7 separate regions of the Homo sapiens genome follow, and all the other regions are linked to region 1. The links are contacts of gene promoters, found by promoter capture Hi-C in blood cells and fetal thymus (Javierre and others, 2016). All regions are on one chromosome and are shown on one strand. Each heading gives the region's core, a stretch centred on a gene start or on the middle of the fragment in contact. The rest is flanking DNA. Distances are from core to core; before and after follow the strand shown. Region 1 holds the start of ZBTB2 (zinc finger and BTB domain containing 2). Region 2 overlaps SYNE1 (spectrin repeat containing nuclear envelope protein 1). Region 3 holds the start of PLEKHG1 (pleckstrin homology and RhoGEF domain containing G1). Region 4 overlaps SYNE1 (spectrin repeat containing nuclear envelope protein 1). Region 5 overlaps PLEKHG1 (pleckstrin homology and RhoGEF domain containing G1). Region 6 overlaps SYNE1 (spectrin repeat containing nuclear envelope protein 1). Region 7 overlaps SYNE1 (spectrin repeat containing nuclear envelope protein 1).

What was found. Contacts are between HindIII fragments. The CHiCAGO score rates a contact against its expected background, and 5 or more counts as called.
Region 2: a contact is called between a fragment that was not itself captured here and the fragment with the promoter of ZBTB2 in region 1, in 3 of 17 cell types (non-activated CD4 T cells, naive CD4 T cells and total CD4 T cells). The highest score is 6.5, in non-activated CD4 T cells.
Region 3: a contact is called between a fragment that was not itself captured here and the fragment with the promoter of ZBTB2 in region 1, in 1 of 17 cell types (fetal thymus). The highest score is 8.2, in fetal thymus.
Region 4: a fragment that was not itself captured here is called in contact with the fragment with the promoter of ZBTB2 in region 1 in 5 of 17 cell types (non-activated CD4 T cells, total CD4 T cells, naive CD8 T cells and 2 more); the score reaches 17.1 in non-activated CD4 T cells.
Region 5: a fragment that was not itself captured here is called in contact with the fragment with the promoter of ZBTB2 in region 1 in 1 of 17 cell types (fetal thymus); the score reaches 7.2 in fetal thymus.
Region 6: a fragment that was not itself captured here is called in contact with the fragment with the promoter of ZBTB2 in region 1 in 3 of 17 cell types (naive CD4 T cells, total CD4 T cells and activated CD4 T cells); the score reaches 8.5 in naive CD4 T cells.
Region 7: a contact is called between a fragment that was not itself captured here and the fragment with the promoter of ZBTB2 in region 1, in 4 of 17 cell types (naive CD4 T cells, total CD4 T cells, naive CD8 T cells and 1 more). The highest score is 8.8, in naive CD4 T cells.

What each region holds. Positions count from the first base shown.
Region 1 is chr6:151,389,316-151,393,165 of GRCh38, forward strand. ZBTB2 (zinc finger and BTB domain containing 2) reads right to left here and starts at 2,244. Exons shown (of 3, transcript NM_020861.3): 1 at 2,105-2,244. LOC124901232 (translation initiation factor IF-2-like) reads left to right here. Exons shown (of 3, transcript XM_047419613.1): 2 at 639-1,157; 3 at 1,390-3,850. The coding sequence ends at 2,289. RefSeq lists silencers at 806-1,735, 1,816-2,205, 2,216-2,275 and an enhancer at 2,257-3,129. The HindIII fragment of the contact is 3,903 bases long and covers 1-3,464 here.
Region 2 is chr6:152,211,843-152,215,692 of GRCh38, forward strand. SYNE1 (spectrin repeat containing nuclear envelope protein 1) reads right to left here. Exons shown (of 146, transcript NM_182961.4): 122 at 3,064-3,218; 123 at 1,770-1,917. Among named protein-coding and RNA genes, the nearest start is that of SYNE1-AS1, 170 kb to the right of the region's middle. The HindIII fragment of the contact is 406 bases long and covers 1,626-2,031 here.
Region 3 is chr6:150,596,089-150,599,938 of GRCh38, forward strand. PLEKHG1 (pleckstrin homology and RhoGEF domain containing G1) reads left to right here and starts at 3,797. Exons shown (of 17, transcript NM_001029884.3): 1 at 3,797-3,850. RefSeq lists silencers at 3,285-3,344, 3,525-3,819, 3,615-3,850. The HindIII fragment of the contact is 2,902 bases long and covers 476-3,377 here.
Region 4 is chr6:152,160,710-152,164,559 of GRCh38, forward strand. It overlaps SYNE1 (spectrin repeat containing nuclear envelope protein 1), which reads right to left. Exons shown (of 146, transcript NM_182961.4): 131 at 3,454-3,616. Among named protein-coding and RNA genes, the nearest start is that of SYNE1-AS1, 220 kb to the right of the region's middle. The HindIII fragment of the contact is 2,524 bases long and covers 943-3,466 here.
Region 5 is chr6:150,618,368-150,622,217 of GRCh38, forward strand. All of the region lies in intron 1 of PLEKHG1 (pleckstrin homology and RhoGEF domain containing G1), which reads left to right. Among named protein-coding and RNA genes, the nearest start is that of PLEKHG1, 20 kb to the left of the region's middle. The HindIII fragment of the contact is 5,144 bases long and covers 1-3,850 here.
Region 6 is chr6:152,140,226-152,144,075 of GRCh38, forward strand. SYNE1 (spectrin repeat containing nuclear envelope protein 1) reads right to left here. Exons shown (of 146, transcript NM_182961.4): 138 at 3,398-3,540; 139 at 978-1,104. Among named protein-coding and RNA genes, the nearest start is that of SYNE1-AS1, 240 kb to the right of the region's middle. The HindIII fragment of the contact is 1,113 bases long and covers 1,158-2,270 here.
Region 7 is chr6:152,123,434-152,127,283 of GRCh38, forward strand. The region is part of intron 145 of SYNE1 (spectrin repeat containing nuclear envelope protein 1); the gene reads right to left. It also overlaps a transcript of ESR1 not described here. Among named protein-coding and RNA genes, the nearest start is that of SYNE1-AS1, 260 kb to the right of the region's middle. The HindIII fragment of the contact is 4,815 bases long and covers 1-3,850 here.

The DNA.
Region 1 (3,850 bases), core at 994-3,493:
TGGATACACAACAAGATCATTCAAAATGCAGTGGAATTTACCTTACCAATTTATAATTTTGGTTTGTGATAAATCAGTCAAATGAGAATTAAAATGGCACAGTCCCAATTCTCTATTAAACGTTCAGGGTACTCCCACACTAAAACGCTAGTGGTGTGTACAACTCGCCCTGGTGCTCCAACGGGGTTGGCATAGATGGATGATTTACATTAGCAAGGACAGGGCAGCGCGTTTAAGCAAACCCAGAGACCCCCTGGAGTTCTGATAATTCTGACCTTCTTTATGCTTTATTTTACTAAAACAATACCCTGATAAAATGAATAGAATCAAGGCTCACAAACTCAGTGGACCCATTGTATGATGAAAGAGCTAATGAACAATGCAGCTGGGGGAGGCGGGGAGCGAGAGCCGGGTTATATCCCCAAGGCATAATTAGGAGTTCACGTATTCGGGTGGAAGTTCCTGCAGTAAAAGGCGTAGCTGCAGCTTCTCCCGGCCCAGGCACTCGCCTGCTCTGCTACCCTCGCTTCTTTATTGCCTCTTTTACTACCAGCTAAAAGCGGCAAAACCCAGCTTCCTTTGCAGCTTCTGGCTAAAAAGTTCTCTCTTGCGGCTTTGTTTAAACAAGAAGGGTTTAGAGGTTTCGCTACACCGAGAAAACGACGCCGGCCCCGGGAAGCAGCCTCCCCGCCTTGGAGTCCGGTTGGGGCGTGAGGGCCGCGCGGGTCCCACGCCCCAAGGCTAAGCAGCCGAAAGCACAGCGCGCTCGGGGCCAAACCGGGCTGTATCGCAGGCGCAGATGGCGCGTCGGGCGGAAGCTGGAGGCCGCCGGCTCAACACGCTCCGTACCCGGGACTGGGGCCCGGCCTGCAGCCTCAGCGAGCAGGCGACAAGGGCGGCGCCACAGAGGCCGACGCGTCCCCCGCCCGCCTGAGCGCGCCGCAACAGCCACCTCGTCCCACCCGCCCCGGGGCGGGGCCGGGGGCGCGGCGCCGGGGCCCTCTGGCCCCCTCCGGTCTCGCCGGCCCCGCCCCCTCCCTGTCCCCGTCCCCGAGGGGCTGAGGGGGAGGGAGGGGCGACGCACTCCGGCCGCGTTGCACGCTCGCCGCTTCCCTCAGTCCCGCGTGCGCGCGCGCGCTCGCCCCAAGTCCCGCGGAGTTTAACACAATGCCGACGCCTACGCCGTGCGCAACGCCCCGGCCGGCGCAACAGCCCCGGCGCCGGGGGCGGGGGTGGCCCAGACAGGGAGAGAGGGAGAGGGATGAGCGCGCGCGAGAGCCGGAGACAGCGCGAGACCCGAGGAGGCCGGAAGCGCGCGTGCGCGCCCCCGCCCGCGAGCGGGAGGCGGAGCCGCAGCAGTAGCGGCAGCAGCTGTAGGAGCCGCTGCAGCTGGGAGAAGCGCCAGAGAGGCCGGGCCTGCTCCGGTCGGACCGGATCCCTCCCCTCCCCCTCCCTCCTCCCTCCCCTCCCCCAAACCCACTTCCGCAGCTCGCGGCCTTGCCGCCGAAGCAGCAGCGGCGGCAGCAGCAGGAGGCGGCGGCGAGGCGTCGGAAGGATTACGCACCTGACGGGCCCGCCTCTGAGGGCTCCAGCGCGGGACGCTCACCGGCCGCCGCCGCCCAGGGCGCACTTCGCGGTGGCGGCGGGAAGGGAGGGACCGGCCACGGGGAACCGAACGCGAATCGCCCCCCTCCCCTTCCTCCCTCCCACCCTCCCTCCGATCCGCCGCCCGCCCTCTCGGCTTCCGTCCCCTCCCCCTCCCACAAAACCCCGGATGGAGGCGCCGCCGACTCGCCGCCGCCTGGCTCCGGGGGATGGTTTTGTCAAGCGGCCAGAGCCCCGGCGCCAGGCGCAGCCGCCGCCGCCCCCGCGAGGCGCCCCTGCCCTCGCTTCCCAGAACCGGGTCCCCGAGTGGCCCGGGCCTTCCGCCTGCCTGCACCCGTAGCCCTGGTACGAGGGTCATTCGTCGTCTTTGTTGCCACCGCCTCTGCCGGAACCGTTTGCGAGCTCCGGTGGCCCCCGCCCCCCCACCGCCTTCCCGGACCCTGGGCTGGGGGTGGCACGTGGGCACCGGCCCCGGGAGGCGGAGGCGGTGCGCGCTTACCTGTCGCCGGTGCTGCTGCGGCGGGGGGTGTGGAGGAGGCGCCTCTGGGCAGCCTCGGCCGTGCTGTCCTCCCCGCCGCCGCCGCCTCTGCCTCTCGCTGCTGCTGCTGCTGCTGCCGCCGCGGTCGGTGTCTCCGGCGCGGCGGCGGCGGCGGCGGCGGGGCTTTTCCTGTCCGGTTACGTTAAGGTCACATGACCGAGAGAGCGGAGAGACTAGTGCAAAGAGGCTGCGAGCGGCTCCCGCCGGGGGGGAGAGGCGGCGAGAGAGCAGTGGCGGCAAGAGCCCCCTCCGCCCCCCCCCCAGCCGCTCCCCTCCCCCCGCCCGCCTCCGCCTCCTGCTGCTCTGCCGCCGCCGCCGCCGCCTGCAGCACTCCACTGCCGCTCCCACCCAGGCTCCGCGCTCTGCTCCAGCCAAACTTCTGCAGACCATGTGCAGCCGAGGCGAGGAAACTTCTCTCCACCTATTGGGGCTGGAGGCCTGAGTCACAAGCCCCTTGTTTACATAAAGTGTTTAGGTAGCACAAGTCCTTGAGATGCTCGGGGTAGAGATGGAGAGCCACTGCTCGTATCCTTCTGCCGGCTTCTGCTTGAGATCTCTTGGCCTTTACCCTTGTCCCTTGACTTTTCGTGTTTGTTTTAATCTTTAAGACTTGAAATGGAGTGGCCTTTAGAACCGGGGAGATACTGTAAACCAGCAGTATCTTTGTGTCACCAATGGTAACTGAAAGTCATGCTGAAGTACAGATTCCTGTAGCGTGCACAGAGGCAGAGGTGCTTCCTTTACCTTGCAGATGAGTTGAGCGGCGTAAGATGTTTCTGTTAGGGTTGAATTTCATGGTTATTTCAGCAACGATTTTCGTTTTTGAAGTTTTGGCCCCCCCAAAAATGAAAGTCTGCAACGCATGTTTGTTAAGAGAACAGTTTATTCTCCTGTTAGGTTTTGGTCTTTGAGGTATGGATTCCAGAGTTGGCTATTCTGTTAGATTTAGAGGTGTGGAAAATCTTTTAACGGGGAGATCCTGAAACACGGAAACATGGCAGGGAAGTTAGAATTTCCTGATGGTCATTTTTAACATTTTAAAGTTTACTTTTTGGTTGTTGCCATTTTTCTAGAATCCGTGTCTTTTTTGGGGAAATACAGTCCTTTGAGGACTAGAATTTAATGATTTCTTTACACATCTAGGATTTTTTGAGATTTAGAAAGGATATGGCTTTATTCCTAAGGAAGTGGAGGCAGCAGTTTCTAGGATACTCTGGTTTCAAGGCATGCTAACTTGGTTGTGATGTCTAACCCATTTTGGTTTACACAGTCTGACCACTAGCACAATGCCTGGCACATAGTTTACAAATCATTTAAGGCAAGCTTACCATCTTAAGACAATTTAATACATAGAAGTGTCCCTCCTAAAAATCTGAGTTTGATTTAGAAATCCAGTTATACCTGCAGGTACTGATGACTAATTCCTTCTTTGAAGACAAAATAAGCAGCTGTGTAGCTTCAGTGGCTCTCAAATGGATAATAGATTCAGTGTATACTCGCTTTGAACTTTCCTGTTTTTTGATCAGCTAGATAAATGACTTTAGTGGGTAAATGTCTGCCTCCAAAACCAAATTCTGACCCTGATCTAAGTATTCTACTGCACCGCTGTCACTGGAATATCAAAGTTGGCCTTCAGACTGGTGCCTGGTTCCTTGGATTGGCTTGAGTATTGAGGTCTGTCTCATCTTACTAGGGAACTAAAATGAT
Region 2 (3,850 bases), core at 579-3,078, 820 kb after region 1:
TCTTTCAAAAACACCTAATAAAGTAAGTTAATGCACAATTTGTTTTCTGGTTTATTTTGTATATAAAATATGGTCCATATTCAAAACTTAGAGAATAGCTTAGGACCGTTAAAGAAGTCAAAGAAAAAAAATAGCCTAGTCTTTTTCTGTCTTTTAAAACTCACTGTTTTTAAGTTTTAAATTTTAAAATTAATAAATTTTAATAAATTTATTTCACTATTTTAAAAAACTCAAGAGAAGGTCCTTCGAATTATTTCTACTGTTTTTTAAACAACTTTATTGAGTAACAATTCACATACCATACAATTCACTCATTTAAAATGTTCAATTTAGTGGTGTTTATTATATTTACAGACTTTACAATCATTACCACAATCAATTTTAGAATTTTCATTGCCCCAAAAAGAAAGTCCATCCTCATTAGCAATCATTCCCCATTTCTTCCCAATCCTCCAGCCTTCAGCAACCACTCATCTATTTTATGTCTCTATGAATTACTTACTCTGGACATTTCTTGTAAATGGAATCTTGCGATATGTAGTCTTTTGTGACTGGTTTCTTTCCCTTGGCATAATGTTTCCAAGGTTCATACATGTTGCAACATATATCAGTACCTTATTCCTTTTTATTGCAAATAGTATTCTATTATATAGACATTTCACATTTTATTTATCCATTTATCAGTTGATGGACATTTGGGTTGTCTCCACCTTTTGGCTATTATGACTAATGCTCCTATAAATAATGTACTTACACAAGTTTTTGTGTGGACACATATTTTCATTTATCCTGAGTATATACCTAGGAGTGGAATTTCTGGGTTATATGATTACTCTACGTAACTCTATATGGTAACTCTATGTTAACTGTTTTCCAAAGCAGCTTCACCATTTTACATTCCCATCAGCAATGTATTAGGGTTCCAATTCCTTTACACCCTCACCAAAATTTGTTATTTTTTCATTATAGTCATCCTTGTGGGTGTGAGATGCAATCTCATTGTAGTCTTTTTTCTATTATTTCATCATCTGTCAATTCAACAAAACTGGATTTAAAAATACCTTAGATATCTTTAAATTTTCTATTTAAAAAATTCTGAATTAAGTTTTTCTTTTCTCTTAGGTAAGACCTATCTCTCCATGTGCATATCATTCATAAATACACAAACTGACTTAGTTATACCGGTAAATAGCAACATAAGGATTAACAGTGGGCAAATTTATTAATTTACTTTGTGTATATAGTTCTTCTCCCTCTTTGTTTCTTAAGAAATAATTATAATGCAATTTAATCAAGAGGTACACCTGGAGACATTTGATAGATTGATTTCCTGGTATAAAATTCATATACGCTCTTTGAAGATCACAAAATTTTTAAAGACTTTTGATCAAAGCATAGTCTCTTAAGCAATTGTCCTTGGCATATTAAAGTAGTCTCTAACCCAGTTTGAAAATTGTCTAACTATCTATACACGTTCCACCAACTTTGCCTGTCTCGAGTAAGTAGCCTTTAACCACAATTCTGGCATTATACTTTACAAGGAACTGAAGATTGACACGTGCTTATAAACAATCATGGAGCAGCGAATAGGACTACATTTTTATAATTAAGTTATCAAAACCTCAAGCTTAAGAAAGAAGGCAAAATGATGCATGCATTTAGACACTCGTGCAAAGGGCATGATTTTAATTCTCCCACACAGCATTTCGTAGCATCTTCTAAGGGCCTAAAAATTTCTTATTACCCCCAAATCTACTGATACAACTTACCTCGTGTGCTCTCTGCTGTTCCAAAAGGTGCTGATAATTTCCTGAAATCTCTACTGCTAACTTTTGTTCTGTCTGAACTAGGAATTCCATCCATGTTTCACATTTTTCCAAGAAAGTCTGATGTTGTAGCAAAAATGACTGCAACTTGCTGAAAGAACAAAGGGCAAGGAACAATGGTTATTTCACTGCTTATTCTTACTTCTCTAGCATATAAAACTAGATTAAATAATCTCTGTGCTCAATTCTAATTGAACCACCACAAAGCTTTCATGTCAGGTGGTAAAATTATTTTAAAAAAGAAGAAAGAGGCCAGTTGCAGTGGCTCACGCCTGTAATCCCAACACTTTGGGAGACTGAGGTGGACAGATCACCTGAGGTCAGGAGTTGTAGACCAGCCTGGTCAACATGGTGAAACCCCATCTCTACTAAAAATACAAAAATTAGCCGGGTGTGGTGGTGTGTGACTGTAATCCCAGCTACTTGGGATGCTGAGACAGGAGAATTGCTTGAACCCAACATTGCAGTGAGCCGAGATTGTGCCTTTGCACTCCAGCCTGGGTGACAAGAATGAAACTCCGTCTCAAAAAAAAAAAAAAAAAGAAGAAAGAAAGTTGAAAAAATGTAGAAGTTTAAAATGTACCTCTTTTAAAATGATAAAAATTATGTATATACTTTTAATATATTCTCACTTAAAAGAGTTTTCTGATTAAAGTGCTATTTAGTACACTAAACATGAGAAACGACTTTACAATTTGAATTTCCCACTTTTAGTTCAAATTTTGTCAGTGTTATGGGAAAGATCAGAATTTATAAACATACACAAGTCATGAGCTTATATTCTATTGATACATTGGTGCTATGGTGTGAATGTATCCCTTCCATAATTCAGGTGATGAAACTTCGTGGTGAATGTTGGTAGTATTCTGAGGCAGAGCCTTTACACGGTGATTAGGCCATGAGGACTCCTCCTTTGTCAATGGGATTAAGGGTCTTTTAAAAGAAGATTCACACAGCGTTCAGCACTGTTGTCCTTCTGCCTTCCACTGTGTGAGGACACAGCAACTCTCCCCTCCTGAGGATGCAGCAAAACCTGCCCTCTTGAAAGCAGAGAGCAGCCCTCACCAGACAACTGAATCTGCTAGCACCTTGACTGCGGACTTCCCAGTCTCCAGAACTGTGAGACTGTTCAACATTTCTGTTCTTTATAAATTATGCATTCTGTAGTATTTTGACATAGCGGCACAAACCAGACTAAGACAACTGGAGCAACCAAGACATCTCTTGTTTACTCTACCTGAATCTTTCTGTAGTCTGAGAGGAGATCAGAGACCAATGGCGGTTCAGATTCTGCATTCTTTTGATTTCCTTATCATTCAAGGGTAACCTATATCCAAGCTCATTTAGACGGTCTAAATCTGGAGCCATGCTGCTGAATTTTAACATCTGTCCCTAGAAGGAAGATTTAAAAGTAGGTTTAGCACCATGGTCAAAAAAGTCAAAACTTTTTCAAAGTGCGCAGTGAATTTCTGATTTCAGGAAGTAGCTGGTCTTCGGTCTAGTGGCCTCTGCATTTCTAGGCCACTTACTTACAATCTCTAGGTACGAATAGCGAAAAGCCAAATCTACTTTTCAGTCTAAACTGCTGCTGCTGCTGCTATTGCTACTCAAGCTACTCATTATCCTTTATGGACTACTTAACGTGTATTCTGTTATTTACTTGATATATTATTTACTTGTATGGTTTATACATACAAATATATTATTTACTTTATTTACACGTATTATATTATTTACTTGATTTTTATTACGTGTATTATATTACATATACTATTTACTTGATTTACTCATATGTAATTATATTACAAGTATTATATTATTTACTTGATTTATTTACTCATAGGCAATTCTTGACAGAACTGATTAAGGATGAAAATTATGCTGATAAGTAAAAGACCTTACTTCTTACCATTTACGTTTAATTTGTTCATGCTAATTTCCTCCTTTATTATTCACAACTAACAAAAGTTATAACAGTGATAGCTAACGTTTATTGAGCACTTACTATGAATCAAGCACTGACA
Region 3 (3,850 bases), core at 677-3,176, 790 kb before region 1:
TGGGCTTAGTACAGCTTCTTGATTTTTAAATCTTCTAGCTAATTGGAGGATTGAGAGAAACAGCAGCACCAATGTAGATTTTGCTGGCCACTCCCGGCTCCATAGAATTTGAAGACACATGTCATCCTATATGCACTTACTTATGCTCTTGGTCTTTCATTTTCCCTACGTGAGACTTTTTCCTACGTGAGTCCCTTCTCTTACCCTAATCCCTCTAATAAGTTCAGGACATTCTAGAGAGTATTTTTTAAGCCTCACACATCCAAATTTGAAATTGAAATAGCTTCCCCATCCCCTGCCAGAAAAGGGATAAATGCTACCTGTTTTTTGTCCCTCAAGTTCTCCTACAATCCAGTGGACATATTTCTGATCTTGTGTAATAATAAATTTAGTATAGTCACTATTCGCATCATAAAAGTTATCACCATATGTCATAAAGTTAAGGCAGGGTGTGATCGAGCCTTTTAACTCTGTAAGCTTTGCAAACATTAGCTCCCATATGTGCGTGGATTGGTGACCCTGAAATATGATACTGCACAAAACTGTGCAATTGTGCTGCCTTTCAGGACAAACAGCTGAGTTCGTGAGATGAGAAGAACCGGAAGGCAGAGCTGTCTGCATTCTGCTCTGCCTCGCATAGCTGTGTGGCCTTGAGCAAGTCACCAAACTTTCCTGAATAGCTGTGACCTTATGCATAATTCAGGGATTATAGTATCTACTTTACTGAATCTGTACGAGGAAGAAATAAGACACCATAAGAGGCATTTAATAATCTTTTTAAAGTAAAAGTTGTACAGGTTTGTTACATAGGTAAATGTGTGCCATGGTGGTTTGTTTCACCATCAGCCCATCACTTAGGACGTTCAGTCATCTTAAAAAGCAAGAACTTCTCTTCTACAGAAATCTAATTGATAGACCCACTTTTACTTGAGAAGGAAAAGGTATAATTTGAGGGTGGGCTAAGCCTGGGCCTGTTGCCCTCAGCCTCTTCTTGTGAAGAGAATCACTCAGAATCACAGGGTTATGGGGATGGGTGGGGGAACACTCCTTCAGGCTGTGTCTTCTGAATTCCTCTGTCTAGGAGTGGTAGTGACTTTCTGTTGCTGTTAATTTCTGGGCTGCCTCACTGTCTCTTTTTGGATTCTTGATTCTTCCATCACTTGTAGAGCCAATTTCCTGCATTAAAGTCCCTCTTTTATAAATACTTGAACTGGGTTCTGTTCCCTTTGTTTGACATTGACTGATAGAGCAGTATTAGAAAGACCACTCGCCAAAAGAATTTTCCCAATGCTGGATGCACCATTAGAAAGCCATTCCATTGGGTCCTTTTCCTTAAAGTGGAAGAGTAGACTCTTACTAACAGAATGCTACAGCATCTTCACAACTCTTATGTTGTCCGTTCATCCATCCAACAATCCACACACTGAATATCGTATACCTATTGTGTGTTAGGAGCTGAACTAAGTGCTGGACACACAAACCAGACCCACAATGTGTCAGGCCAGGTGATTTCAAGGAGCTCAAATTCTAAAGATCTAAAGGGCAGAGTTCATTTGCCTGGAAATCAGGAATGATCACAGGACTTAGGTGCTTAGTGCTATACTTGGCATACAGTCTCAACAAAAGAAATTTCTTGTTCCTGTTTCCACTTTCTACCTCCCACCTCATTAATAAACTGAGGTGAAGTGAGCGGGCTGGCCAGGAAATATTATAACCATCCCATAAGCACAGTACCAAATTCAGAAGAGCTATCTGCCTAAGGGTGAGTGCTCTTGAGCAGCAGCATCTGCAGCTGATCCAGTCTTTTCATCAGATCATAGTGCTTCATCCACAGCTTCATTCGAAGCACTTGTGCTAAGAAATGCATAACTGAGGCCAGGCATGGTGGCTCACTCCTGTAATCCCAGTGTTTTGGGAGGCAGAGGCTGGAGGATTGCCTGAGGCCAGAAGTTCGAGGCCAGCCTGGGTAACATAGCGTGACCCCGGTCTCTACAAAAAAAAAATGGTAAGTAAGCCCGGCATGGTGGTGCATACCTGTAGTTCCAGCAACCCAGGAGGCTGAGGCCAGAGGATTTCTTGAGCCCAGGAGTTCCAGGCTACAATGAGCTATGATTGGTGCCACCGCACTCCAGCCTGGGTAACAGAGCGAGATCCCGTCTCAATCAATCAATCAATAAAAGAGGAGACAGCAGAGAACAGGAATCCCCAATTCTCCTCCCTTCCTTTCCAAGTTGTCGGAAACCCTTATCTCTCAGCCACAGACACACTCATCAATGAGCTTCTTTGAATCCTAGATGCTTTGAGTGTCAAATAAAGGCTGGCACCTACCTCACAGGGTTGATGGAAACCATTAATGTGGTACTATTTCACAAACATACTGCACACTTCTAACACAAATCACAACATAGAGAGATGGGGTAACAGGCATGATTTTGTGTGAGCTCCAGAAGCTGGGCAGGGTCTTAATTAAGCTCAGTTTCCTGTCTGTGAAAGGCGACTAGCACCTGTCCTGTCAACCTCACAAGGTTATCGCAAGGCCAACTGAAACAATGCTTTGAAGATGGCAAATGTCTGTTTTAGTCCCATTGCAAATCTACCGTGGTAAATGTATTCCAAGCATAACCCAGTCCCATAGTTTTAGGTAATACAAGTCAGTTGTGGAGACTCAAATTATAAAACAGAACATAAACTCCACGTGGTAGAGAACTGTGATGCTGTGTAGCCTTACTGCACAAACCTTGTTTTGTTCCCAGTCTTTATGATAATTTCCATAATCATGTATATGCATAAAAGCAGATAAAAGGCAAAAATCAACAAGAATAGCTAACATTTATTCAGGCTGTAGAGCATGTGCCAGACAGTCTCCTAAGCCCTTCACGCACATTCTCTTATTTAAATCACATACAGCAACTCTATGAGGTAGGCACTATCATCATCATCATCATCATCATCTCCATTTTACAGATGAGGAAACAGACAGAACACAGAGAGGTTAAAGCGTTCTCTCAAGGCCACACAGCTAGCAAGTGGTAAGGCTGAAGGTCTGTTAACAACTAAGAGTGCAATCAAATCCACCACCAAACCTAAGGGGGTCCACAGGCGACCCTGATACGTCCGACTTTGGCGGGAGATTAGTGTTAAGAAATGACTTCACATGCCTTTAACTGTCGCTGCAGGCACCTTTGATTGGAGTCATAACTTTACTGCAGAGCCGGTGCCTTTAAACATCTCTCTGGCTGTCACCGGTTATTCTTTACCTCCGTTTCCACTTTTACTTTCTCTAGGCAAAGGTCGTTTGGTGCTTTAACCGAGGTGATTAGGGTAATGACGCCTGAAGAACACCGGGCTTCCCCCTCTTTTCACTTGATTACCGGCAAAGCTTCTATGTAAAACTAGAATGTTCACTAAAACCATGATTTTGGGTATTATTTTAAAGGACTCACATAGGAAATTATTACGTCCAAAGGAAAGCTAAACCTGAAGAGCTAGGAAAATGAAAAAAAGTGATGTGTCTGCGAAAACAGTAGCAGAATTAAAAAAAAAAAAAACTTTATTCCCCCCGAAGCTGTAATTTGACTGTTCTCTTTGGCAAGGCTCCAGAGACAAGGCCAAGTGCCTAATTTCTCTTTCTCTTCGCCCCCCTCCTCTCCACCTTTTTCACCCTCAGGGCAGAGGGGAGGCGGGACGAGCGATCCACTGCTCCGGCCGCCGAAGCTGGCGTCTGGGCGCGGGGAGGGGCGGGCCGGGGCGCGGCCGAGCAGTGGGGCCGAGCCCGAGGAAGAGGAAGTCGGAGCCCGAGCCTGAGCCCGAGCCCGAGCCCGACGGCGGCTGCAGGGCGCTCCGGCAGCCC
Region 4 (3,850 bases), core at 955-3,454, 770 kb after region 1:
TCTAAATTATAAAGAATTTTTCTCCGCTTTCTGAAGTTAGAGCCATTGTCTTCCAGCTCCCAGTATTGTTTTGGAGAAGCCAGAGTTTATTTCATCCTGGAAACCTTTAGGATCTCCTTATCCCTTGTGTTTTGCAGTTTTACAGTGTGGCTTTGCTTTGTTTTACATTTTCCTGGGCACTCATACAGCCCTTATCATCTGCAAATGCATGTTTTTCATTTTAGATATATATATGAATATATATACACACACATATGTGTAATGTGTGTACACATATACGTGTAATCTTCCACAAAGTAAACAAAAAGATAAATATATGAAAAATAGGAGAGAAATATAGACATAAACATAATAAAATTAACAATAATGCGAGAGTTTCAAAATCCAATTCAGTTATTTTATAAAAGTCCCCCCAAAAAAGAATAAAGAAAATGGAGAGGAGAAAATTAACATCGTAGTAATGTAACAAAAATATAAATATATATTTAATAATAAATATATAAAATATATTTTTACATTACTACATTATTTATTTCATAATAAACATATATTATTTAATAATAAATATATATATTACATTACTACTATGGTAATTTTCTCCTCTCTATTTTCTTTATTTTTTTTTAGCAGGGGACTTTTACAAAATAACTGAATTGGATTTTGAAACTCTGGCATTATTGTTAATTTTATTATGTTTATGTCTATATTTCTCTCCTATTTTTCATATATTTATCTTTTTGTTTTACTCTGTGGAAGATAGTCTCCATTCTGAATGCTTTTTTTAAAGAAAAATGGCATCCTATCATTTTATGAATGCAAAACCTCTCATTTCTGTGAGTTTGTTTGTTTTGTTTTGTTTACATTTTCTTTCTCTACAATGTGTTTCCTCTGATTGTTCCTTTCTTTATTTCCCTCTATTTATTTTTTTTTCTTAATGGTAGAAGCTTTCTTAAGTGGTGAGGATTCTTGCCTACCCACACATATTCAAGAATGAGTCAGCTATAGAAGCTGTGTATGCACCTAAAGTATGTCAACTGGGAGGCTTCCCTGTGGAGAGTTAGGCAGGGGTCTGGCCTTTTCTGGGTTACCTTAAGTATCACTAATTGAAGGTACTTTTTGCTTGTCTGATCAGTTCTCCAGAAAGGATGCTCCAATCTCCTGGCTAGGGTGTAAGCCTGGGTACTGACATAGTGGGAGCCAAGCTGGGGAAGCGGGCTGGGAGCCCTAGCATTTGGTATTGAGCCAGTCACATCATCTCCCCATTTTTAACATAGTGACTCTAGCCTCCACGGTGTCCTGATCCCCAAACCCAGAGTCCCTCTGGTTTGCTTTCTCCAGAGAGTAATCATCTGATCTTCTACCTGAGTAAAGGAAGCAGAGTTCCCTGGCTGGCTGGGCTTAGGAGGAATCTGCCAGTCTCAGCACACCTTATTCAGATTTTCAAGTAATCTTCCATTTTACAGCTCAATAGGCAACTCAACTTTCAGCTTCACCTGATCTCCACTTTCTGAGCCTTCTTCGAACTCTGTGGCATGAATCAACTTTCTCCACCCTCCATTCTGTTAACAACATCACTGATCTATCCACTTTCTATCTTGCAAAATTATGTTGGATGTCTGTCATCTCTACCATTTTCTCTCCTGTTCTCTTTGCCATTGTGGTTTTAACCTTTTTCCCTCTCTACCATCATTTTATTGGGGTTTTAGTAGTAGGTGGGGCTATAAATACATATGATCAATTTGCCATATTTAACTAGATATTTTGTTGATTTTCATACACTTGTGAAATTACGATACCCGCCATTTGCATTTCAACTCATCACTATAGACATCATTACCATGTTCTCTGGAAGAATCTGGGAAGCCGGATGCCAACCAGGATCCCTACAATTCAATCATCAGAATCTCAAACATCACCACCCATCAGAAAACTTTAATTTCATAAAAATTGAAAAACGTCTTGCTAACAGTTTTTTTAAAGCAATGGAATATAGTGTATGTTTCAAGATAGCTAGAAGAGAAGATTTTGAGTATTGTAAGAAATGATAAATGTTTAAAGTGATAGATATGGTAATCAAATTACCTCAGTTTGTTTGATTATTACACTATGAAAATATGCATTGAAGCACCACGTTGTACCCCACACATATGTACAATTACTATATATTCATTAGAAAGAAAAAAATTTTAATGATAATTTTAATATTAAAAAAACCTCAACACCCAAAACTGTATTTTGACACCTATTTCATTGGCTTAAATAGTCTGTAAAATGAAGTAAGTACATAAACTATAAGATTTTAAAAATAGGAGGTATTTACATTTTATAGCATTTTAAAATTAAGCAACTTTGCTGCAATGGCCTAAATGTAATGGAGAGAACCAGAGTGTGGATAGAATATTCAAAGCAACCTAAATGCATGGAGTAACAATACCTCTAGCGGGGGATTTACAGTGTTTGCTATTGGCAACTGGAGTCCGATATACTTAGCAAGGATAAATGAGGGGGCCTGGCACAGTGGCTCACGCCTGTAATCCCAGCACTTTGTGAGGCCGAGGGTGGGCAGATCACTTGAGGTCAGGAGTTTGAGACCAGCTTGGCCATCATGGCGAAACTCCGTCTCTATTAACAATACAAAAATTAGCCAGGCATGGTGGTGCATGCCTGTAATCTCAGCTACTTGGGAGGCTGAGGCAGGAGAATCGCTTAAACCTGGGAAGTGGAGGTTGCAGTGAGCTGAGATCGCACTACTACACTCCAGCCTGGGCAACAGAGTGAGACTCTGTCTCAGGAAAAAAAAAAAAAAAAAGAAAGAATAAATGAGGGAGGGAATGGGAGGTGAAAATTTCTTCTGTATACATTTTCCAGGATCATCCCTTTTTGCTTTGTTGGGTTGTACGCCGCCAGTGAGATATTCTGTCTTTGCTACACACATGAAAGTGGAATTACTGTGTGCGATCTGCAGGTCATGCAATCCTTTTTGCAAAACAAAATTTTTTCAACTTGAAAAATTCTAAGTATGCCTTGTAATCTTTCCCCAAACACTATACACAGGAAAAAAAGTCGGGGGCAGGGGGGCTCCTTTCAGTCCTGTCTAAGTGTATGGTAGTGGGCTAGGGCTAGTGACTCTCAAATAAATAAACCAATCTGTTAGCACTGTTTTAGATACGTAATTGCAACTCCACCTTACCTACCATCTTAGAAGGCTTCTTGGTGGATGGATGACACTAACTGTACAATGGCACAACCATCTTTGTAAGGCTGAACTCTGCAGTGACATGGAACCTGTTGGCCTCAATCGCCTGCCTAGGCAAAGCCCCCTTCCTCACCAGTCCTGCCTAGCTCCCTGCTGACCTTCCATCTCCAGGCACCATCTCATGCCCACCCCATCATCCTGGCCAGGAGGACAGATATTCCATGGCTTATTAATTCCATTTCCATTTTAAGTCTTACCTGCTGCTCATTAAGCTTTCTCTGTATTTCTTCCGAGTTACAGGAATCGTAGACTATTGGCTTGGCCAGCTCTGACTCGATGTGAGCGAGCCAGGTCCTCAGGCTGCTCATGTTCTTATCAAGCTGCTGCACGGCTACCAGGGTCTCCTTCAGCTTCTTCACCCTGTGGGCAGAGAAGGGGGAATGTCCCACTTCAGCGAGAGGCCCACTCATGTTTCTCTAGCGTGCAGAGGAGAACACTGGGCTTTAACAATCTTTTTAGGCAGAGTTAGAAACTCATGTGGAAGAAGCCAAAGACAGAAGACAAAGGAGGATAGAAATTAGAGATGAATACAGACAAAGGAGCAAGGATGCAGAGGAGGCAGGGGTCCAGGGCACAGGAGCAGAGATAGATAAA
Region 5 (3,850 bases), core at 867-3,366, 770 kb before region 1:
AGACACAGCACATCTTTATGTTTAATCTGTATTATTAACATGTTCTCCAGGCCTGATTCGTAATGTTTGCCAATATCCATGGTGTGGAAATATTCCCACTGTGGCTGATATCAAGCTGCCAGTGTGACATTAAATTCAGAGTGGGGAAGAGATGTGCAGTATTGCACCGTTTGTCTAGTATCTCTACCACATAGATGCAATAGATGTAAATAACCCTAAGAGCATAGATGATAGTAAAATGCAGGGAAATAATTAAGAAGTGATGAGTTTTGGGCATTATACCTTTGTTTTTAATAGGATTTATTTAATTTTAAATGTATATTATTTACTCTTTAATAATGGCTTCAACACCTGGCTTACAAAATTTCTGACATTTAACAGCTGGCTCTTGTGAGTTGGTACAGAAATAAAAGGGAAGAAATGATGGAAAGGGAAAAACAGGCTGGATGCTCAAAATCCCAACACTTTTGGAAGTCAAGATGGGGAGGATAGCTTGAGACCAGGCATTCGAGACTAGCTTGGACAGCATAGCAAGACCCTGTCTCTATAAAGAAAATTTTTTTTAAATTATTTGGGCATGGTGGCAGTATCTGTAGTTCCAGCTACTCCAGAGGCTGAGACTGGAGGATTGCTTGATCCCGGGAAGTCAAGGCTGTGGTTAGCTGTGATTGCACCACGCACTCCAGCCTGGGCAATAGAGTAACATCCTGTCTCTAAAAAAAGAAAAAGAAAAAACAGTTCAGACTTACTTTGGGAACAGATCCTGGACAATTTGACTCAAATGATGGCCCTTTCTCAAAATTCAACGAGAGATCCATTTGAGCTAGAGACGTTTGGGTTTAGGGGAGGGCGTTCAAAGGTCATCTGAGTTTTGCACTCAGTTTCTCCTTCCAGTGGTCTCCTTTGCACTTTAGCACCCCTGCCTGCGTTCGCCTTTCCCACCTCCGCACCTCCCTGCCCTCTGCCCCATAAATGCTGTTGCATTCTTTCATTCTCCCTTCTTCTGCCTTGTAGAGTCTTTTTAAAGCATTCTTCATCCTTGTGTCTTTCTGATGTCCATCATCCAGCTCAGGAAACCAGTGACTCCAAATTCCTGCTGCCTTGGAGGGCAATAGAAACTCATACAACTGGTCATAGATGTTTTTCTGACACAGTTTCATCTGAATTAATTGAGTGTTGACTGCTTTATTCCTGATACCCACTGAGATGCTTCATACCAAGGGAACAGATGATGAAGGGCATAGAAGGCAGTTTGGGAGCAGGGAGCTTTTGCAGACATAAGGCAGCTTTTATGGAGCAGGAGTGAGAGGAAGTACAGGGGTAAAGAAAATAAAATGTGTGCTTCTGGATGCTTTCTTTAGCCAGTCATAAAAGAAAAAAGGTTCTTTTTTCTTTCACCCTTCTACATTATGTTCTTCACAGCTCCAGGGACCAGGGCTTAGGATAGCGCTACTCCACTTCTCATAGGAGCACATGGTAAAAACCAGCTCTCAGTTTTGGCTGAGATGACAGGTCTTTTAGACAACAGCCCATTTACTGCTTGACTGCTTATAGTTTGAGGGCATAAATTGATGTCTTTTTCCTAAAAGGTGTGTTTTGAATTAAGGAGAGTGTTTCCACACGTTTTTGTTATCTCATTAACACCAGCATTTATGATGCTGCATTTTCTGTATATGTATTATCGTTTATTTGGTCACAATCACACAATCATTACACATTTCATATTTTTGTTTTTTGTCTTTGTGTTTATTTTTATTGTGTTTATTTTCTTGTGTATATTTTTTATAACTTTTATTGTGTTTTTAATCTGAAAGGGGATTTTCGTGTGGGTGAATGGAAAGAAAAACAACAATTTCGGTTTGATTGTTAGAAATAATTCTAAGCCTGTATTTCCCAAAGTCCTTCACTGGCCCTGGGCAGGGAGCCCTGAATACTGGGAGGCCTGACAGCGTTTCTCTCCAAGGAAGACACCGCTACTCAGAAGCACCTCAGCTCTGCTGACTCCAGGCTGTGCCCAGGCCAGACCTAGTGGGTCTTGATCAGGGAAGAGATTGCTGCTGCAACCTGGCCTGTCCTTTGTCCCCCCAGACCCCTTCAGTATTTGTGCAAGAGGGGAAGGGCTCTATGTAAACACTGTCACTCCCTCTATGGCCATCGGGCCCTCCACACCCACTTATTCCAACTGGAGGGTAAACAGAGCCAATTGTGTGTTCTGTTTTGCTTGTCTTTTAAATTGCCAGATCTTACTGACTTGACTTACCTATTTTCAAAAATTGGTCTATTTCTGCTGTTAGGAGGACTGTATGTCTATATGTGTGTTCATTCAGCAAATATCTCTATACCCGTTTTGTGCCAGGCATCAATCAGTTGCACCATGCATTTGGGATATAAGGGAGACAGAACGGAGGCTCTGCCCTCGTGGGGTTTGCAATCTCTACAAGAGACATTACAAACAAGGGAACATCAGATATTATGAGAAATGATCAGTGCCATGAAGAATGGGAGAGAGAATGAATTGAGATTGGAGAGAGTCTCTCTTAGGAACACCCAAATAAAACTTGGTTGTTCATAACCTGAAGAAGGAAATAAAACAATGCAATTTATCCTGCCTCTGACAACAAGGGAAAACCTTTGGCCTCTCTTGGATTGAATCTCTAAGTTCCTGACTTTAGTCTCTCTGTGCCTCAGTTTTCTACCTTTAAAATGAATTTAATAATGGTCACAAACTCCTGGAGTTGTTGCAAAGAGTCATTAATACTGGCAATGTGCTTAGAGTGGGGCCTGACAAGTAGAAGTAGTAGGACTTGATATAATTATGTACAGGAATGATGGTTGGTGAGGGTCCAGCATTTGTGCAAGAAGGCCGTGTTCCAGAGTGTCAGACTCTGGGGCTGTTGCTTTGCTAGGAGATAATAAAAGTCACAACCTCTCTGAATATCAGCTTCCCTTTTTGACACATGGGTTCCTATTAGTTTTACCACCTCAGGGGCTTTTGTGGCACAAATCAATTTTTTTTTTTTTTTTTGAGATGGAGTCTCACTCTGTTGCCCAGGCTGGAATACAGTGGCACAATCTCGGCTCACTGCAACCTCCACCTCCTGGGTTCAGGCGGTTCTCCTGCCTCAGCTTCCCGAGTAGCTGGAATTACAGGCCTATGCCACCACACCCAGCTAATTTTTCTATTTTTAGTAGAGTCGGGGTTTCACCATGTTGGCCAGGCTAGTCTTGAACTCCTGACCTCAAGTGATCCTCCAGCCTTAGCCTCCCAAAGTGCTAGGATTACAGGTGTGAGCCACCATGCCTGGCTGGCACAAATCACTTTAAACACTATAAGCCCGCAATTTGAAAACTGGGAAATACTAAATGAGTGTAGATGATGTTATTGAGCAATAACACGGACCATTAGTGACCTATTTGAATATATGGTTATGAGTGCTGTCCAAATGTACATCTGTCATCATTTGTGCTACACATCTTGTTCTGTTTACTTCGATGTCTGTTTTCTGCTAAGGTAACATCTTATGACTTGAACACGTTACAGTTCATTACCTGGTCTTACCGTGTTGCGTCCAGAACTGTTGTGTGAGTTGCAGTTAACCTTGAGCTGTAGGTAAGAGATGCACATTTGAATCCAACTCATATTTGAGGCTCTGATTCCCTTACTTCTCCCTAATACCATTTCCTCCTCCGAGAGCTCTGTCCACACCTGGGGTCAGCTTGGTTGTGCCAGCCAACACTTTGTGTTATATCAGACGGAAGGGAGCAGAGAGCTGAATGAGCCTATCATGCTGTGGGGTCTCAGATGTATATAATTTTGTTAAGTGAATGAATCTCAATAAAAGCCAACATG
Region 6 (3,850 bases), core at 464-2,963, 750 kb after region 1:
TAAACATAGGTTGGCAGCCAATTTTAAATAGCAACAGAAAGAAAAGTAATTCCACTGGGCATTTTCGTTGTTGTCATCTGGAAATAACAGTTACATGGGTACAATGGCTGTGTTTTTTCTATTTGTATTTCTAATAATAATGAAGCAAAAAAGTTAGTTACATGGGCATTCACACTGTAAAGAGCTTTACGAAGTAATAAGCAGTCATGAGCACGAACGATCGTTCAATTCTTGGATCCTGTCTACAATAGGGCTCTGAGCACACACATATAAAATGCCTGATTAGATATGTGAGAAACAGTGCATTAAAATAATTGGAACATGAGAGCTGGGGTGGTAGTGCGCGCCTGTAATCCCAGCTACTCGAGGGGAGGCGGGAGGATTACTTGAGCCCAGGAGTTGGAGTCTAGTTTGGGCAACACAGCGAGACTTCATCTCAATATTAAAAATAATAATAATAAATGAAACATGGGCAAACACTACCATGATGGCATGCATCATCCCCTCACTGTCAAAGGAGACTGTTGGCCAGGTGTGGTGGCTCACGCCTGTAATCCCAGCACTTTGGGAGGCCGAGGCGGGTGGATCACGAGGTCAGGAGATGGAGACCATCCTGGCTAACACGGTGAAACCCCACCTCTACTAAAAATACAAAAAAATTTAGCTGGGCGTGGTGGCGGGCGCCTGTAGTCCCAGCTACTCGGGAGGCTGAGGCGGGAGAATGCCATGAACCTGGGAGGCGGAACTTGCAGTGAGCCGAGATAGCGCCACTGCACTCCAGCCTGGGCGACAGAGCGCCACTCCGCCTCAAAAAACAAACAAACAACAAAAAAGGAGACTGTTATAACTTGGAAGGAAGTTCTCAGGATAGAACGGTGTAGAAGAAGGCCAAGCCCCCTAAGTGGAATTTCGCTGTTAACAAAGTGCTTCAGGATCTTCTATTTCATTCACTCTTGAACTGGATGCTACGCACTCACCAGCCGTTTGGGTTTCGGTACTATGCAGGTTAACAAAGCCAGGAAGGCTCTCCTCTTCCTCCTTCAGTTTGTGCTCCAGTCTCTTCACGGAGTCTATACTGCTACTGCATTCGCCCAGCAGTTTCATCTGTTTAGACATAAACAACCGGCCCCTGTCACCCAAATCTTCATGAGTGCAAAAGCTTCCGGGGAAAATCTCTTTGTAATTTCTCAGCAAGAGAAGTGTCTGTGTTTGGCTCCTCTGTGCCACCCTGCTAAAAATAAGCCAAGATGGCCGAGTGTGGTGTCTCAGGCCTGTGATCCCAGCACTTTGGGAGGCCGAGGAAGATGGATTGTTTGAACTCAGGAGTTTGAGACCAGGCTGGGGAACATGGCAAAACTCTGTCTCTACAAAATATACAAGAAATTTAGCTGGGCATGGTGGCATGCATCTGTAGTCTCAGCTACCTGGGAGGCTGAGGTGGATCACCTGAGCTCAGAGGGTGGAGGCTACAGTGAACCATAATTGTGTTACTGCACTCCAGCCTATGCGACAGAGTGAGACCCAGTCTCAAAAAAAAGAAAAAAGAAAAAATAAGCAGAGGTAGGCTGGGCACGGTGGCTCCTGCCTCTAATCCCAGCACTTTGGGGGCCGAGGTGGGAGGATCAGTTGAGCCTAGGAGTTTGAGACCAGCCTGGGCAACATAGCAAGACCCTGTCTCTATAAAATATTTTAAAAATGAGCCAGGCGTGGTGGTGAGCACCTGTAGTCTCAGCTGTTCAGGGCACTAAGGTGAGAAGGTTGCTTGAGCCCAGGAATTCAGCTGCATGCAGCGAGCTAAGACCATGACACCGCACTCAAGCCTGGGTGACAGAGTGTGAGACCCTGTCTCTTAAAAAAAAAAAATTAAATAAGCAAAGTTCAAAAACATGCCTTTTAAACAGGTGATACATTCACATATACAAAAAACAATGCCTTAAAGATATACTTTGCATACATGATTTTGCACGAGAAGTCCTTCAAGTTTCTTTACGATTCATGACTCAAAACAGATTAAACCAATCTGCAATTTAAAACTCGGAGCCCTCAGCTGGCAATGCAGTATATAATTTTTGGCAAGCTGCTCCCTCTTTCTCTTTCTTAAATTGAAATGTGGGAACGTTAATGTTACGACAAATCTCATGGGAACTTTCTTGCATTAAATAATTAAAATACTTAAAATTATAGAGCAATATTAAAGCCAGCTGTTTTATAAAAAAAATGTAAGCAATGTTTAATAGGCATCAAGGGACTAAATTCTAAAGTCAAAGAAAAGCTTCCAAATTCATTTTTAATATCACATACAGTATTCAAAGATTAAAAGAACAAATCATTTCAAGATACTCCTGCTGTGCTTACCATAAATCCTTTAACAAATCACAATGCCAGTAGGACTGTTATTCTGATTACTTTTGATTGAGGTTAAGTGTAATCCCAGTGATGTCAGTATGATTACCATAAAACTATATCATAGGTATTTTTAAAAAGTGGTTTCACTATAATAGAAGTTGGTATAATAGGCCAAACTGAACAGGAAACAAACTCATAATTGACCGCTCTTCTGTAATTATAAGGATAATAAAATCAACATATATAGCTAGAACAGTTTTCTTTCCTAATTTCAAAGAGTAGAACATGTGAGTTGTGACCAGACTTGGGGAAATTCATTTTTCTTTCCTTGTACTAACCAGTCTTTTGGATATGAAAGAAGACGTGAGGCAGAGAAGAGACTGGCTTTAAAATTCTCTTCCTTAAGTACGCGTAGGAAAGCAGGTAGTTCTCTAGGGAAAATTAACTGGTCAGTAACTCGAGTAGGGCAAATAACCCTCTGCTAGACTTTATCATACATAGCCAATAGCCGCATAGATAGAACTGGTAGTATATCCAATGCCTTGCTATCTTTTCCCCAAATCCCTCTTGCTAGAACTGTTTTCTTCAGAATGAGCACACTAAAAAACAGAAGAGAAAAACATTCCCAAGGTCATTCGGTGAACCCAGGAAAAGAACTACCAAAAAAACTGCATGTTAGTAATCTATTAGCTAAAATCTGCTGCTCCAAGGATAACCTTGGTCCAAAAATTATTAGTTGAATTTGGAAAAATGCCTAATGACTTTTGGGAGCCAAAGTATTTTGTTGCTCTCAATGAAAAGGATCTCCCTAAGTGCTCAGTGTAAAGGAACAGGTTTGTCATTACAACAGTTTTGTGGGCCTAAAAACAGACAAGTTCTACTCAAATGGTAACTTAATAACAGGGCTTGGCTTTGCACATCCAGGTTCACGAGTTCAAGGGCAGCATGGTATTCAGAGACCACATAAAGCCCTGATGCTGCAGACGAACTGTTCTTTGACACAGAACTGTGGTTTCGCACAGGTCGGAATCAGGATGGCCAGGATACTTACGTAGCCTTTGTAGCTGGTGTCTAGCTCCGGCCCCGTGGGAGTTTTGCTGCGAATGATATTTTCGGTTTGCTGTATCTGAAAACGGCTATCATCCAGGGCTTTGCCCAGTTGTCGGATCTGTGACTCTAGGGCACTGTGGTCCCCTGCGGTGGCAACCATAAGAATCTTTACTGGACAAACTATTTGACTTATTTAAAGCTTGATATTCAAGGAGAAGTTTCAGAAATGATTTCAGTTACAGCAGCATAGAAATGGCAGGTGTGGGTAATTACAAAGCAAATTTAGTACCATCGTGCCGGTGGGTTAGACATTAAAATGGCCAAACCAATGAAGGTGCTTGACTGAGAGCCCTAGCAGATCGGACGTCGCAAAACGGCTCTCCAGTCCGTTTTGAACAGCTTCGTGCACCTGACCCTCTTCCAGCTGAACCCCTGATCATCTGAATGTTGTCAG
Region 7 (3,850 bases), core at 923-3,422, 730 kb after region 1:
ACTCAAAGTGACAAGTTTTTCTATTTCACTTTTATCTTCCTTTTAAACAGTGCATTAGAGATTGAGTACAGGTTTCAGAACTCTTAAGAAGGACTGCCTGGAAAATACAGAATCTGGAAGTAGATTCTGAGTTGGGTGCTACTGTTTTCTTTTTGTGAACAGCCATTACCTTTTTTTGGTTACTAGCAGAAAAGATGAAGAAAGAAATGTTGTTTACGACAGGCATTTGGTGTACACTCAGACCCATACAACATTGAATGAACAAAAATAAAAGATGTAGCCAAAAGAAACACTCCCTCACAACTAGTATAAATTCCTTAAGAGTTTTAATATCACCAAGGATAAGGACATTGTATGTGAGGCTACTGAAATAATATGAGCGTGTGAAAGCTGTATTGGTAACTGTAGGTTTGGTCCAGAAGAAAGCACTATGTTTGTAGCTCACCTATTACCTATTAATTTCTGAAGACAGACTACCCTAATATCGGTGGGGGATGCGGAGTGACACCTAAGAAAATAAATGTTAAAAACAGATAGAATCCCCTTAGAAGGGAACAGAGGGAGTATTCAAAACTCTTTTATTAAACCATCAAAGAAAAATGGGAGAGGGCTGGGCACAGTGGCTCCCGCCTGTAATCCCAGCGCTTTGGGAGGCTGAGGTTGGCGGATCACTTGAGGCCAGGAGTTCAAGCCAGCCTGGCCAACATGGTAAAAATACAAAAATTAGTCAGGCCTGGTGGCGTGTGCCTGTAGTCCCAGTCACTTGGGAGGCTGAGGCAGGAGAATCGCTTGAACCCGGGAGGCGGAGGCTGCAGTGAGCCATGATCGGAACACCACTGCACTCCATCCTGGGCAACAGAGCGAGACTCTATCTCAAAAACAGATATTGGTTCTGCAGAAACCCCAAGAAACAGGCAGCACGCAGTGTTTCTATACACTTCTTGTGGTGTAAGGAAAAATCAAATCACTGGTTTAAATTGGAAGCATGTTCTTTTCTGAAATCCACACAAGTAACGGCAGGGTAATGTAACCTTGAACAACTCACTTCATCTCTAGGTGTCAACCTCTTCACTAACCTCTTCAAATTAGCATAGATGGTCTTCTAACTTTAAAGTTTACTGTTCGATGTTTTTGTCTTCTACTGATTTGTCAGTATAAATAATCTCCCAAGAAGCCACAAGAGCTCAATCACCATCTAGTGGTCAAACTGATTAACTGCCCTTGTGCTAAGACCAATGAGTTATTCCTAATAAGCTGAGGGAAAAAAAAAGTATATTTTGTGAAAATATAGTAGAACATAAAAGAAGTATGTCATATACCTTATTAATGGAAAAGGAAAATAGAAACTTCTTGAGTTACCTGAGCATAAAATATTCATGTTGAGACAGGGCCTTAGAGAGCATCCAGTTCATCTCCTAATTTTGTAGGGGAGTAGCTAAGGACAGTTCATGTTTACTCTTCTAATTGCTAGGCAGCACTCTGAGCATTTATGTTGGGTTCTGTCATTTAATCCCCACAGCAGTCCTCTGCGGTGTGTACTTATTAACTTCATTTTACAGATGATGTGAAAGAAAGCTCAGGGAAGTGAAATAACTGGCTCAAGCTCACACAGCCAGTGGCAGAAGATTTCAACCCTGTGATTTTAACTACCAGAACCTGGAGACTCTAGACAGGCTGAATGACTTGCTTCAGATTCTACAGTTAAAGGAAGAGGCCTAGCAGGGACTCAGGCTTCCAAAATCCCTGCCCACCGCACTCTCTGCTGTGAAATGTTTTGCTGGTTGGTGATAGGAATAATGGTAATGGTAATTCAGGTCGTATTCATTTCACAGGTATCTCACATGTAGAAGCAAAGAAGAGAATCCTGAACTTGCATCCTAAAATATTTGGAAACAAGTGGTTTCCTCGTGTCTAAAGCCTCTGGTCATAAGGCCTCACAGTATCCTGCAGATCATCAAATCCGTGTGTGGACGTGGGGACATTTTGTTTTGAGGCAGTTACATGACCATGGGCAAGTAAATTAGTCTCTCTGGCCTTCAGTTTTCTCATTTGCAATGATTCAATGGTTTGCCTTAAAGTGTCTTAAGAAGGATAGGATAGCTACCCACAAACTTTGGATCAAATTTTCTTCAAAACATCCTTCCCCTGACTTTAAAATATGCCCTGGCAACCAACACTCAACACCTGTAGCTAGATGAGTTATAACAGAGTGACTGAAGAGAGCTCCCACAATTCCTAGTTATTAAATACCTGACTAATTTTCATTAGGAGACATTTAAGAACTTTAGTGATGGGAAGATTTACATATATAATTGATAGTACAATCTGACAGAGCTGAATAGCTCCTGTTTGTCAACTGTTAAATTCTTTGTGCAATTAGGTCAAAGATCAAGATCAAAACAAGGGCTGCCCATTGACCTGTTCACTCCTGAGAAAAATGGCAAACCATTGAATCATAAATCATGACAGCCAAAATAATTTTAGGATATTAATGCACCCCTCATCTTTGCAAATGAGAAAACTGAAGGCCAGAGAGACTAATTTACTTGCCCATTTTTGATAAAAATGTCACCATTTACAGAATGTGGACTCCTATGTTGGAGTCTGTTGAAGGACATGGCACATTTAACAGCATCAGAGCATTTTTTATTAAAATTTAATTTGTGCATGACTTCTAATGCTGAAGAACGCCAAGCTAGGAAGAAGTCATGGGCTGAGATGGGGACAGAGAGAACACACAATATTCAGTGACTGTCCGTGCAGCTGGCTGCCCTTGAAAATATCCGAACTATCCACTGGGAAAATGCCTGTCCCCTTGGGGTAATTACCAGAGTTTCAACATGCCCAAAGCTGCCTCATCTTCAGGGGGAACTTGTTCTAGCGATTTTAGTATCAAGAAGCTAATGGTCCCAGGGAAAGGGTTATTTTTAATATTTAGCTACTGTGCTAAAAATCACCTAAGTTTCTAGAGTCTTGGGAAATTTCATAAGGGAAAGAACAAAGGCAACTTGTTGACTACCCACTGGTCATTCTCCTCTGGTCTTATTACATACATGGATGCCAGTTTAGATTGTGTTTATATAGGAAAAATTAAATGTGTGAGCCTCCTTAAGGAACATCATCAATACAGATATATCAGATAGTTCTGTCCAGCAAAAAACGTGCTTATTTGCTACAAGTAAATTTTTATTTATTTTTCTCACTTCCCTCACTCCTTCAAATTTCCAGGTAAATAGCTGCCCAGGAGTTGCTTCATCTCTGTCCCAAAATACCTAGACAATTGCGGGATAAGGAGAATGGCAGGGAGGGAGTAGTGGCTAAAATCACACCCTTCAAAAGAAAGTGTGTAGGACACACAATTGTGAGAAGTCTGAATGCCATGCACATAGGGTATGACTCACTTTGAAAATTGTTTATAATCAAGGAAATGAAAATGAGTTAATTTCGTGCATGCATCATTTAAAGCCAAATGAGAAGAAACTTCTAATTTATTTTGTTACTTTTCGGCTAACACTGGCAGTATGTAACAGATTTATTTTGCAGAAACATCTAGATTGTCCGTGATCTTGATCCTGCCCTTATGTGTCTTGTCTTTGAAACCCAGTGTTTCCTGGATATATGGTTCAGGAGACAAGTTTCCAGAATCAAGTTAGGACCCAGGTCTTCTTTTTTTCCAAACCAAACATTCTTGCTAATCCTAAACTACCTGAGGCAGCCTGTGGTGGCCTCAGCTCTAAAACCATTGTTTAAAGGCTTCTACCCATCAATGGCCCTTCAGCAGAGTGGTACGGTTAACGGGGTAGGGTCTGGAGTCAGGGGAGACCTGGGTTCAAATCCTACATCTTTACAC